Linked DNA regions of Homo sapiens: region 1 is linked to region 2. Evidence: promoter capture Hi-C in 16 types of primary human blood cells and fetal thymus (Javierre and others, 2016). All regions are on one chromosome and are shown on one strand. The core of a region is centred on a gene start or on the middle of the fragment in contact, and the rest is flanking DNA. Distances in the headings are between cores, read along the strand shown.

Region 1 (5,217 bases), core at 2,320-4,819, 160 kb after region 2:
ACTCCTCCCTCTGCTCTCTTCAGTTGGTTTCATTGCCAGCCCCTCTCCATGTCAAGAGCTCTACCCATAGGGATGTTCCCACACAGATGGGCGTCTGGCTGGAGTCCATGTCTGACACCTCCCCGGTGGAGAAGGGCCTGGCAGTCTCTCTCCTCCAGCTCCCCAGTCCTAAGGGCTCCCACACTCCTTGCCTGATACTCCATGCTCTCCCTTCTCTCCTCAGTCTTGTGATTAACATCCTTGCCATTCTCTGCTAGGCCAAGAGGTGTGTTGGGAGTGTGTCTCTAGCCCTGGGCAGATGTAGCACTGACAGGAAACACCTGTCTATAGGGTCGATCTAAGGGAGACCATCTTGGCATCTTCTGCAGCCTTCAGAGCAGAGGTTCTTCACTGAGGAAAGAAGGTAGTCAGGGAAGAGAGGCTTTGTGGTTAGGGCTTTGCTTGCTCTTTCAGTAGCTCAGGAAGAAGCTGCTGGGCCCCATCCAACAGGATTGCTGTGGGATACCACCCCCCACTGTCCAAGACCTTGCTCAATGCTTTTGCAAAGTATAGCGTGCGGGGGCACGTGTGGACTCTTTTGTAGATTTCTAAGGGCAACCCTCTTCTCAACAATAAGAACCCTGTTTCTCAAGGCTGGTTGGGGGAGGCATAAGAAGACAATTCAGGGAGGCTACTCTGGTCACTCAAAGACCCCAGCTCCCCTGATGAGGATCTGCAGTAACAGGCATTTCTCCAGATGTGCTCCTGGATCTAGCTCAACCCCAGGGAATAGTTGGTGGTCACAAAGCATTTGGCCAGGGTCCATCCCCCAGGTGTGGCTGAGTCAGCTTGGGAGGGTGGGGGTGAATATGGGGAGCCTGAGCTGAATCTGGGAGAGACTGGTTTGGAAATCCTTCGGGACTGAAGAGGGAGAAGGGCAGGGCAGGGAGTATCCCCACAGCAACCTGGCTGGGAAGGTTTCAATAGCTGCCTCCTGAGCAACCACAGTGACCCAACCACAAGGCCCCCTCTTCCCGGCCACCTCCTTTTCTTCCTGGTAGGGTGTGTTGTTGCCAAGACAATGGGGTCCATGGCTCCTCTCTCCTGCCCCACCTTGAGGCCAGCCAGGCCAAGGCAGGGCAGGGATTCCATGGAGGGGGGCTGGGGTGCAGCTGTCTGCTGGTGTCTGGGTGGGGGCCAGAGAAGTGAGCACAGTCGCAGCTGGTGCCATCCTCCAGCTGCACCTTATCTGTCCCTGGCAGTGGGAGCAGCTGATGTGGCCAGAATGCTGAGCAGCAGCAAGGGGAGGGGGCTGGCAGATGGTCACCCAGTCTGCCCTATGCCACCCCCTCCTCCGCTGAGACCTAGACCCTTTGCCTAGCGGAGAGAGAAGCAGGAATTCATTTCTGGGGCCTGGAAGAGAAGGAAGAGGAGGACAGAGTGGAAATGCTGGGGTGGACATGTGGTGTGACTCATAATCTCTCTCAGGAGGGTGAAATTGGGGGACAGGAATCCCTGGGAGGGGTCCACAGGAGTCCTTCTCAGGACCCTGGATTGGAGACCAGAATCTCCCAGGGAAGAGGTGGAGTGAATGGGGATGAGCACAGAAGCCTCCCCTGCAATCCACTGCTAGGTTCTGAAGGGGCCCGGGCATCCCCTGGAGCACCTAGGGAAGTAAGATGCTGCAATGAGAGGTGGCTGTGGGCGCCTGATCCTGGGACCCAAAGTGGGGAGAGAGAAGTCATCTTAAAGCAGGAGAGCCAGGGATGGCAGTGCCCAGCAAGAGCCAGGACTAGCATGGAGTTTATTCATCCCTAGGGCTCACCCCTCATCCCCACACCCCATGCTGCCCCATAGAAGCTCAGACCAGAAGTCCCTTGGGAGGGCCTGACCTTACTACTGGGGTCTGCACCCTCCAGCTAGGCAGGGAGTGGAGGGGCTGCTGAAGGGAAAGGCTGCCCAGACTGCCATGCAGACAGGGGAAGGGGAATCTTGGGCAGCCCCACCCAGAGGCCTGGTGGTCTTCATGGGTGGGAAGGGGGAACATGCACAGATTGCAGAGGGATAGAAGAGGCCGACCTGGAGACAGTAACTTTAGAGGAGGGGTTCATGGGGTTCATGAACTTTGGGGGAAGGGTTCCTGCCCTAGGGGTTCATGGCTACCACCTCCTGCCTTATCCTTCTCATCTGTCCCTCTCTCCTAGGAAGTGCCTAAACTGAACACAGGTGGGTGGAGAGAGGAGATGGGAGCAGAGCCCATTGCAGTTGCAGGAATCCAGTGGGTGGTCCCTGGGTTGGGGTCTCAGATGTCTCCTTTTGCCTCTCTCTCAGACACAGATACACACAAACATCCTTCAGGTAGCCCAATTTCCTCTCTCACCTCTTCCCCTTCTCCCCAGACCCCAGCCATTTCTGACTCCATCCCTCTCTCAGACAGCTATCAGCTAAGAACTACTCTAAGCTAATTGACCTGGGGGCTGTTGGCTAAAGCAATAGGGAATTCAGTAACTAAGTGCCTCTGGGGGCCAAGCCTGGAAGTGGAGGGCTGGGGAGGAGCACCTCTAAGTCTTGGGACTTTGTCACTGCCCAGCTGGTGGAGAACTCCTGGATATGGCCACTGCATGCCCAGTGTGTCCTGGAGGCAGAAGGGCAGGCCCACAGAGAGGCTTGGAATGTTCTGCTGTGGATGGAGGTTGCTTCTGAGTGTGTTTCAGTTTTGTGGAAAGTAATTTCAATTCTCTGGGGATAGCGAGGGAGACAGAATATTCAGAATGAGAAGCTGGGATTAGGGGAGCGTTAAGCTCCACTGGATTCATTCCCATAGCAGACAGTGCCACTTCCATGTGCCAGGTCCTGCGCTGGGGCAGTTAAGTGCAGCACGGAAGGTTCAGGGCTGAGAGCCATGGGGGTGGTACTAAAGGGGGCCCAGTGGGGTGGGCTTCAGAACAAGGGGGAACATGCTGGGGATGAGCAGACTCTCAACATCCAGGGGGAGTCCTCCCAATCTCCCCAGCCAAACTCAGCCTCTCGGAAAATGCCAGGTTCATAGAATATGTTGGTGTCTCCCCAGCTAACTAAATCAACCGGCCAATTCTCTCCGGCCATTCTTCCGCCTTGGCCAACCCCTGCCCACCCCCACCCCCAAGCTTTCCCTCACTTGTATGTTTGGGGTGGCCAATGCAGAAGCCTCTACCTTCTGACCTATAACGTCCCAGTCAGGACCCTTAGGTGTGCATTCTGGGAGGCAAAGCTGGAAGGAGACAGCGAGAATGAGAAGGGGTGCCTAGCTGGGTGGAGGATAGGACTGGGCATTAGGGCTCCTGGTCTCTATTTTGGGCAAAGTTCCACCTGGCCCCACTTCTTAGCTTCTAAGCCCAATCTCCTGTAAGGAGGTTGTAAAATTATTCTTTATTGAGGGGCAGTCCTTCCTCTGGGACTCTTTGGCCAAGCCCACGGTGCCCCATGTGTAATGGATGTGCAGCGCCAACCTACCTGGACACAGGAATTGGACATCTTCCTCATAGAATATTTAAAAATGATCATGAAGCTGCTGTGTATTCACTTGAAAGGGAAGTTCCCTTAAGGAACTGTAAGGACAGACACTGCCACCCCAGGCTCTCCAAGGCCACTCTCCAGGGAGAGGGAGGGTCAATTGTGATCTTTCTGAGATCCCATGAGTTCTTGGATAGAAAATGCTTTCCCACCCTTCTGCATGCCCTCTGTGTGGCTGACAGTTCTGGGGGCCCAGGAGGTTGGGCTGTGCAGCTTAGTGCCATGTGTCTCTAGTTGGTGTCACACCAGCATGCCAGGCTGAGAACATCCCTGGGGGTGAGACTGTGGCAGTGGCCTTGGCCATGGACAGCAGCCATCTCAGACTTCCTCACAACACCCTCATCACATATGCGCCCCGAGCATGCAAGCACACATGTGCACCTCTGTGTGTGTCTGCAGGGGAGTGTGAATGTAGAGTGTGAAGTGGAAGCATGTGGAGGTGTATGGGGGCCCATGCAGCTTGGTGTGTGTGGCTGTGAGAGAAAGCTTCTGTGTAGGCAAACCTCTGGTTGCATGCAGAGCACATACTAGCAAAATTAATCATCTCTTTCAGTTGTGCTTTGCAATTTACAAATTCCCTTTACTTTAGCTCACGTGATCTTCATAATTCTTGTAGGAAGGAAATTATTAACATCTTCATTGGAAAGATGGGAAAACTGAGGCTCAGAGGAGTTGTGTGACTTGCCTGAGGTCACACAGCTGGGAAATGACAGAGTGGGACCCTGACTTCAGATCTTCTAAGTCCGGGTTCTTTGTGTGTGGCTGTAGGAGTGTGTATGGAGGAGGGTGCTCTGTTGAGAAGCAGTGTGGAGAGGCAGGAAGGGCAAGAAAGGGTATAGAGAAGAGACCCTAGGAATCCCGTTCCCAAGTTGAGTAGGCCTAGTTTTTTGATGCTTTTGTCTTTTCATTGCATCATCAGGCCAAGTGCCAATCTTAGGTGAACCCACCACTGGCTTTCCCCAGGGTCACACCAGGGCAGTCAGGACCTCCCTGAGGAAGTCACATACCAGGGCAGCTTAGTATCACATTGCGTTCATGCTCAACATCCTTAAATGGGCGTGCAGTGCTGCCTGGCAACCCCACTGTGTTTTCCTGGTCAGCTTGCTCTCTCTGATGACTACTTCGAACTTCTCCACTCTTCTCAGTCACCCTTCCTAGCTCCTCTCTCACCCTCAGCGGATGACCTTGGCTACCACTTACTTCACTGAGAAAATAGAAGCCTCAGACAAGATCTTGTCCTTCTTCTGGGTACCAAGCCCTAGAAGGGAACATTCATCTTATCTAGGATAAAGTCTCAACCTAGAATTTTCATCTTATTCCCTCTGCCTTTTTAAGATCTTTCTCCTGCTAATTCTGTCTCTCCCTGCTCTACAGTTGGTCGCTCTTTCTCAAGTGAAACCCCATTGACAATGAAACATGCTGAAGATGCTCTTGTCTTAAAATACATAGCTGTAACGACAGCTAACATATATTGAGAACTTGCTATGTATCGGTCTTTGTGCTAAGATAAAAACTAAAACATGTGTCTCTCAACTCCACAGCACCTGCCAGCTCCTATAGTATCTCTCTGCTTCCCTTTACAAAGTTCCTAAAAGTGATATGTTTATTTCACTGTTTCTATTTCCTCATCTCTAACTCACTTTCTGATCCACTCCAGGCTGCCTTCTTCCCCCATCATCACCATTC
Region 2 (5,453 bases), core at 1,922-4,421:
CACTCACAGGGGCCAGGCCCAGTGAAGGCTGTGGCCAGTGGCAGCCTCCTATGCCCCCTCCTTCTCTGTATCTCTTTTTTCTAGGAGTTCTTTCTTAACTAGCCCTTAGCTTTTCTCCCTCATCTGTCCCCTCCATTTGCTCTAGCATGGTGACTTGAAAAAAAAATGCCCTCTTCCCTATTGAGAGCACCCTGATGCAGACATTGTATCTCTCTCTGTTTTCATGGAGTTGTCTCTGACCTACCCTCAGACTAGTTCTCCAAATCCTAAGCATCTAACAACACAGCTTCATACAACCACACAGTGTACCTCTTTCTGGACAACTTCCTCCTACTCAGGTTTTCCCTCTGGGTCCACCCCCACCCCATGATGCTTCAGGTTCCAGGAGCTGAAAGACTTACTGGGGTCCACATAGGCCCAGCTAGGGTGGAGAGGCACCGCTGTGGGGGCTGGGGGGAAGGCCCCTGCCTTCATCCCCTCCCCAGAGGTGGCTTCCTCATAGGAGGGTGGGGCTGAGGGCACTGCTGGAGCCTCCTTCTTCTCGCCATGCACCTGCTGCTGCCCCTCGGTCCCAGGGGCCTTGTTAGCCACGGAGAGCTATGGAGTAGAGTCAGAGAGAGAGATAGTCACCAGGGAAAGGGAGCCTTCCAACTCCTCCTCCTCACCAACTCTTCAATTCCTGGAACTTTCATGGTTCCTTCCTTACCTGCACTTGGAAGCCAGGAATGCAGACAAGAATGTCTCTATTTTATAGACAAGAGAACTAAGCTCCAGAGGGGTCAGAGCTAGCTGGGGCACATGGTGGAGCTGGGATAGGAACAGAGGAAAGAGAAAATTCTTAGGAGTGTCCACCATTGGTTGTCACTGTCATTGTCCCTGGGGTAGGGGCAGGGTCTCTATGGTTCCAGAAAAGAGCCTGGCACATAGTAGATTGTTACAAATAAAAGGTTATGTCATTTAATCTTCCTGAGACTTGCTAGCTGCATTTTGACCCCTGCTTTAAAATGAGGAGAATGAGGATCACAGAGGAAGAGCGATTCATCCAAGGTCACAGAGCTGCATGTGGCCCACTGAGAGGCAGGGCCTAGGCATCATCCACTGGGATTGATCCTTCTGTTGCGCTGGAAGTGATGCAAGGAGAATGGAGATGGGAGAGAGAAGGGCAACAGAAAGGGAAGAGGAGAGGGAGAAAACAGAAAAGAAGAAGGGCCTTCAGGGTGGAGGAAGGGCAAGAGGATCCAGGCTAAGGGTCTGTTCTGGCCTCATCCTGTAGGAATCTCAGCCTCTCCCCTAAACCAGAACAGACTCACAGAGTGACCCAGTGGAAGGGGCCTCAGAAGACATCCAGTTGAGTCTCTTCCGTCACTGAACAGATGAGGAAACTGAGGCTCAAAGGGAAACGTCCCCATGGCAGGTTGGAAATGCGAGTCCATTTACACTCAGATGTGTCCCCTGCCCCCCACCCGTGGACATGTTTAGCTTTGGTGAGAGGATTTGAGCTGGGAAGGCCTGAATGAGGCAGCCAGAGAAGGAAAGACTGGGGTGGAGGGGGTGGTGTGAAATTGAAACAGCAACAAAAAGCCCGGCTCTCAGAAAATGGGATTTAGGTCTGGTTCCCAGAAGACTGTGTTAGACCTAAAGGGCCACTGAGGAAGACTGCGGACTTCCTTCTTTGCAGGGAGCATCTGGCTGAGGCAGCCTGGAGACAGGCACGCACCAGAAGACTTCTGGTTCCATCCAGGCCCAAGGACCACTGAACTGGAGCGGTCTTCTCCATCCCCCAGCAAGCCTGTGCGTGAGCTGGGGACAAGGGGCAGAGGAGGCAGAGGTCCCCCTCACACCAGGAAGGGAACAGCGCCACTAAAGGGCCTGGTGGAGGCAGGGTGGAGGTGGAAGGAGACTCAGCAGAAGGGGTGAGTTCTCCATGTTTACGGAACTGAACACTCCCCAGGCCTCCCACTGCCTCCCACTCCCCAGCCCCCCTCATCACCCGGATCTGAAGGATCATGTCCACCTAAATCGAGTTCAGCCTCCACCCTGCCACTCCGCCCCCCAGAGCCTCCTGGACCCTAATGCCCAGGCCCCCGACACACATACGGCACTCCCAAGTGAGGTGTGACCAATGGCGGGAGGTGGTATCACCCAGTGACATCATTTGAGGCCCAAAGAGCTTGCATACAGGGAGAGGAGGGTCTGAGGGTCCAGGGAAGGATGTCATTGGCTCTGAAGCTCCTCTCAAAGAGAAGAAGGGGGAGTGTAGGGGAGGTCCTTCCCCTGTTTTCTCTGCCCAATCCTTAGCAACCCAAACAGAGGGCCCGAGTACCCTCCCCCTTAGCCCCAGGCCCTAGTGGTTGTATAATTCCACAGGCTATTGATGTTACATAAGCCTACTAGGCCAGCCGAGTCTCTGCCCCAGCCCCTCCCCTACAATTCAGGCCTAAAACTGGAGAAGAGATGCTTCATCCGGACCCATCCATGCCTGGCCAAAACCAAAACAACAATTAGAGCATCTTGATGCAGAGTTGTCATAGCAAGCCCCAAGCACAGGGATGGAGCCAAGACGCCCAGATGTGGAACAATGGCAGGGAGTAGGGTGGGGGTTGTTTCCGTGGAGGGTGGGAAAGATGAGCATAAAGTGGTTGGGTTTGGGACTGGAGGGTTGGGCCAGAGGGGGTTGCCCGATAGGCACTGCCCCTCAGGGCTCACCCTGGCACACACATACCCATGCACACACATACAGTCACACCAGACGCCCGGGCTGACTCCTCACGGGGGGCCTGGGTATCTGTGAGGAGCCTTGTAATGCTGTAATGCCAAAGCAGGGGTGGCAGGGTGACAGGGGAGGAGAGGCGCGCCTGCGGGCAGGAAGAGGCCTCGGTCCATTCCTTGACACCGGCCTTTCGGTCCTCTGACTTCAGCAAGGACCACGGAGGACCTTCAAACTAGGGCCAGGGGAGGATGCTTTCGTGGTCCAGAGGGCTTGCTGAGGATGACAGGGAGCCGGGAGCCGGAGGATGGAGGATGGTGCAGGCTGGGGAGATGCCGGTACCTTTCCCTGGGTCATGGTGCCGTCTCTCGGGGAAGGGGTCCCTGAGGCCCGGGTGGCCGCTTGGGTAACCGCAGCCTGCCTGCGTCTCTTCCTTCCTCCGCGTGGGTTCTAGCAACATCCACTGCAGCCGGGCCAGGCGAGCCGGCGCGTACCATCGGCGCGGGGGGAGGAGAGGGCCGGGCCTGGGAAGATGCTGCGGAGGACGCTGCGGATTCGCGAGCCCGGGGTAAGGCGGCGGCGCACCGCCCCCTCCCGCCGCTTCCCCCCCACCCCGCCCCCCACCGCCGCCCTTAGCCCTCCCCCGGGATGAGAGAGAGTCGCGCTGCGGAGCAACCCCAGTGGATGGGTCCGCGGGGGCTGAGCGGGCGGAGGACGCGGGAACTCCGTGACACCGACCAGCTGACGCTGCCCGCGTGAAACCAGAGCCGGGCATCAGGGCCTCATCTCCACTGTCTCTGCACCTCTCTGCAGCTCCAGCTGCGCCTCTGCCTTTTCCTCCTCCCTCTTTGGATGCGGCCCTGATTTCTGTCTCCATCTCCACCTCCCCTCTCATCATCTATTTCATCATCCCTGGTAGAGGGGAAGGTCTGGAAGTCTCGCCTGTGCTGCCCGCTTCTAACAGGGCCCCTGGGCCCTGCGCTCCTGTGGGCCTGGGGCAAGCCAATAGCCACCTATCCTTGCTCCTTTTTCTCGCCTGTGAAATGCACACAGTAGGTCCCTCCCTGCCTTGGTTCACAGAGACATGGGGTGGGAGGACACCTCTTCTGTTTCTTTCAGCCCTGCTGGGACATTTCACGGGGTCTTTCTGGAGACACCGCTAGTTCTGTCTCAAAGCCTCTACAACCCCTGCCAGAGCTCTCTTCCTGCCTCCACGCTTAGCTTCCATCACCCCGTCTCCATCTTCCCCCCTTTTCCATTCCTCCCATGCCAGAGCTCGTTCTCCCCGCTTCCCCAGACGTGTCACTGGGACCCAGCCATCATCAGGCCCCGTTTTCTGTAGCTGCTGCAGTGTCACTATGGGGTTTGCAATCTCAAGAGCTGGGATCAAGTCCCAATTTAGTCACCCACTGGCCGCGTGGCCTTGGCAAGGCCCTTAACCTCTCTGAGCTGCAGCTCCTACGAAAAAGAGGCTTAGAACAGAGCTCTGTCCATCCTAGATTGACTGTCAGACGCACAGGTTATGGCCGTAAAAGCACATAAAAGACCAAGAAGTGCTGGAAGTATGTGAGGTATTATTAACTGAGGAGTCTCCTACCAGAATGTCCTGGGCTGCCCCAGAGCGAGCACCCACAAATCTGCCTAAAAGAAGTATCTGAACCTGCTAGGATGGGACGAGAAACTAAGACCTGGGACAGGTGGGGGTGGCCACTTACCTTCTGCTTCCCTCTCACTGCCCAGGGACCCACCTAAAGTCCCTGAGAAAGCAGGGCCCAGGTAGGCAGACAAATTATCAAAGTCTTTTTTTTTTTTTTTTTTTTTTTTTTTACAGAGAAAATCTTGTTCTGTTGCTCAGGCTGGAGTGCAGTGGCACAATCTTGGCTCACTGCAACCTCTGTCTTCCGGGTTCAAGTGATTCTCCTGCCTCAGCCTCCTGAGTAGCTGGGATTACAGGCGCGCACCACCACGCCCGGCTAATTTTGTATTTTTAGTAGAGACAGGGTTTCACCATGTTGGCCAGGCTGGTCTCCAACTCCTGACCTCAAGTGATCCACCCTCCTCAGCCTCCCAAAGTGCTGGGATTACAGGTGTGAGCCACCGTGCCTGGCCTAATTATCAAAGTCTTTATCCCACCCCTTTTTGCCCTTTGTCCCCCACTCCATAACCACCAATTTTGCACAAACACACTTAAGCCTGGGCCTCCGTGTCCAGAGGCTCTCTCAACCCTACAAACCCGAGCTCTTCTTCCAGCAAGCTGTGCCCTGGTCCCCAGCACTGCACCTGGAGCTCTGACCAGCTGGTCCAGGTTCTGGCCTTCCCTCCTTCTCTGCATCTGCATCCTGGAAGTGTTTTCCTTCTCCTGCTTGACAGCTTGAATGCCACCTCCTCCAGGAAGCCTCCTTCCCCCCCTAGTTGGGGTTAGATGCTCCTCTTCTGTAGTTCCCTAGCACCCTGATGTAACGCCTGTCACGTGGCGCTGTGAAGTTTCTTTGACTGACTCCCTGTTACACTCTAAGCTCCTGTAGCAGTTTTGGTGTGAGCTGGACTGAATGCAGTGCCAGGTGTGTGGAATGCACTCCATCAATTGTAGCTAGTAATATTTCCCAGACATGGCACTACGCAGAGCCTGACTTTCATCAGCCTTAGCACTTTCATGTTTGTGAATCACTCCTGTTCCTTCTCTCGCATTCACTCTGCTCCAGCCACACAGGCCTCTTGGCCATTCCTTAGACTGGGCTGAGCATGC

What was found. Contacts are between HindIII fragments. The CHiCAGO score rates a contact against its expected background, and 5 or more counts as called.
Region 1: a contact is called between a fragment that was not itself captured here and the fragment with the promoter of FAIM2 in region 2, in 3 of 17 cell types (endothelial precursors, M1 macrophages and M0 macrophages). The highest score is 6.0, in endothelial precursors.

What each region holds. Positions count from the first base shown.
Region 1 is chr12:50,062,067-50,067,283 of GRCh38, forward strand. The region is part of intron 3 of ASIC1 (acid sensing ion channel subunit 1); the gene reads left to right. Among named protein-coding and RNA genes, the nearest start is that of ASIC1, 7.1 kb to the left of the region's middle. The HindIII fragment of the contact is 892 bases long and covers 3,124-4,015 here.
Region 2 is chr12:49,900,729-49,906,181 of GRCh38, forward strand. FAIM2 (Fas apoptotic inhibitory molecule 2) reads right to left here and starts at 3,172. Exons shown (of 12, transcript NM_012306.4): 1 at 3,050-3,172; 2 at 402-597. The coding sequence starts at 3,064. The HindIII fragment of the contact is 12,443 bases long and covers 1-5,453 here.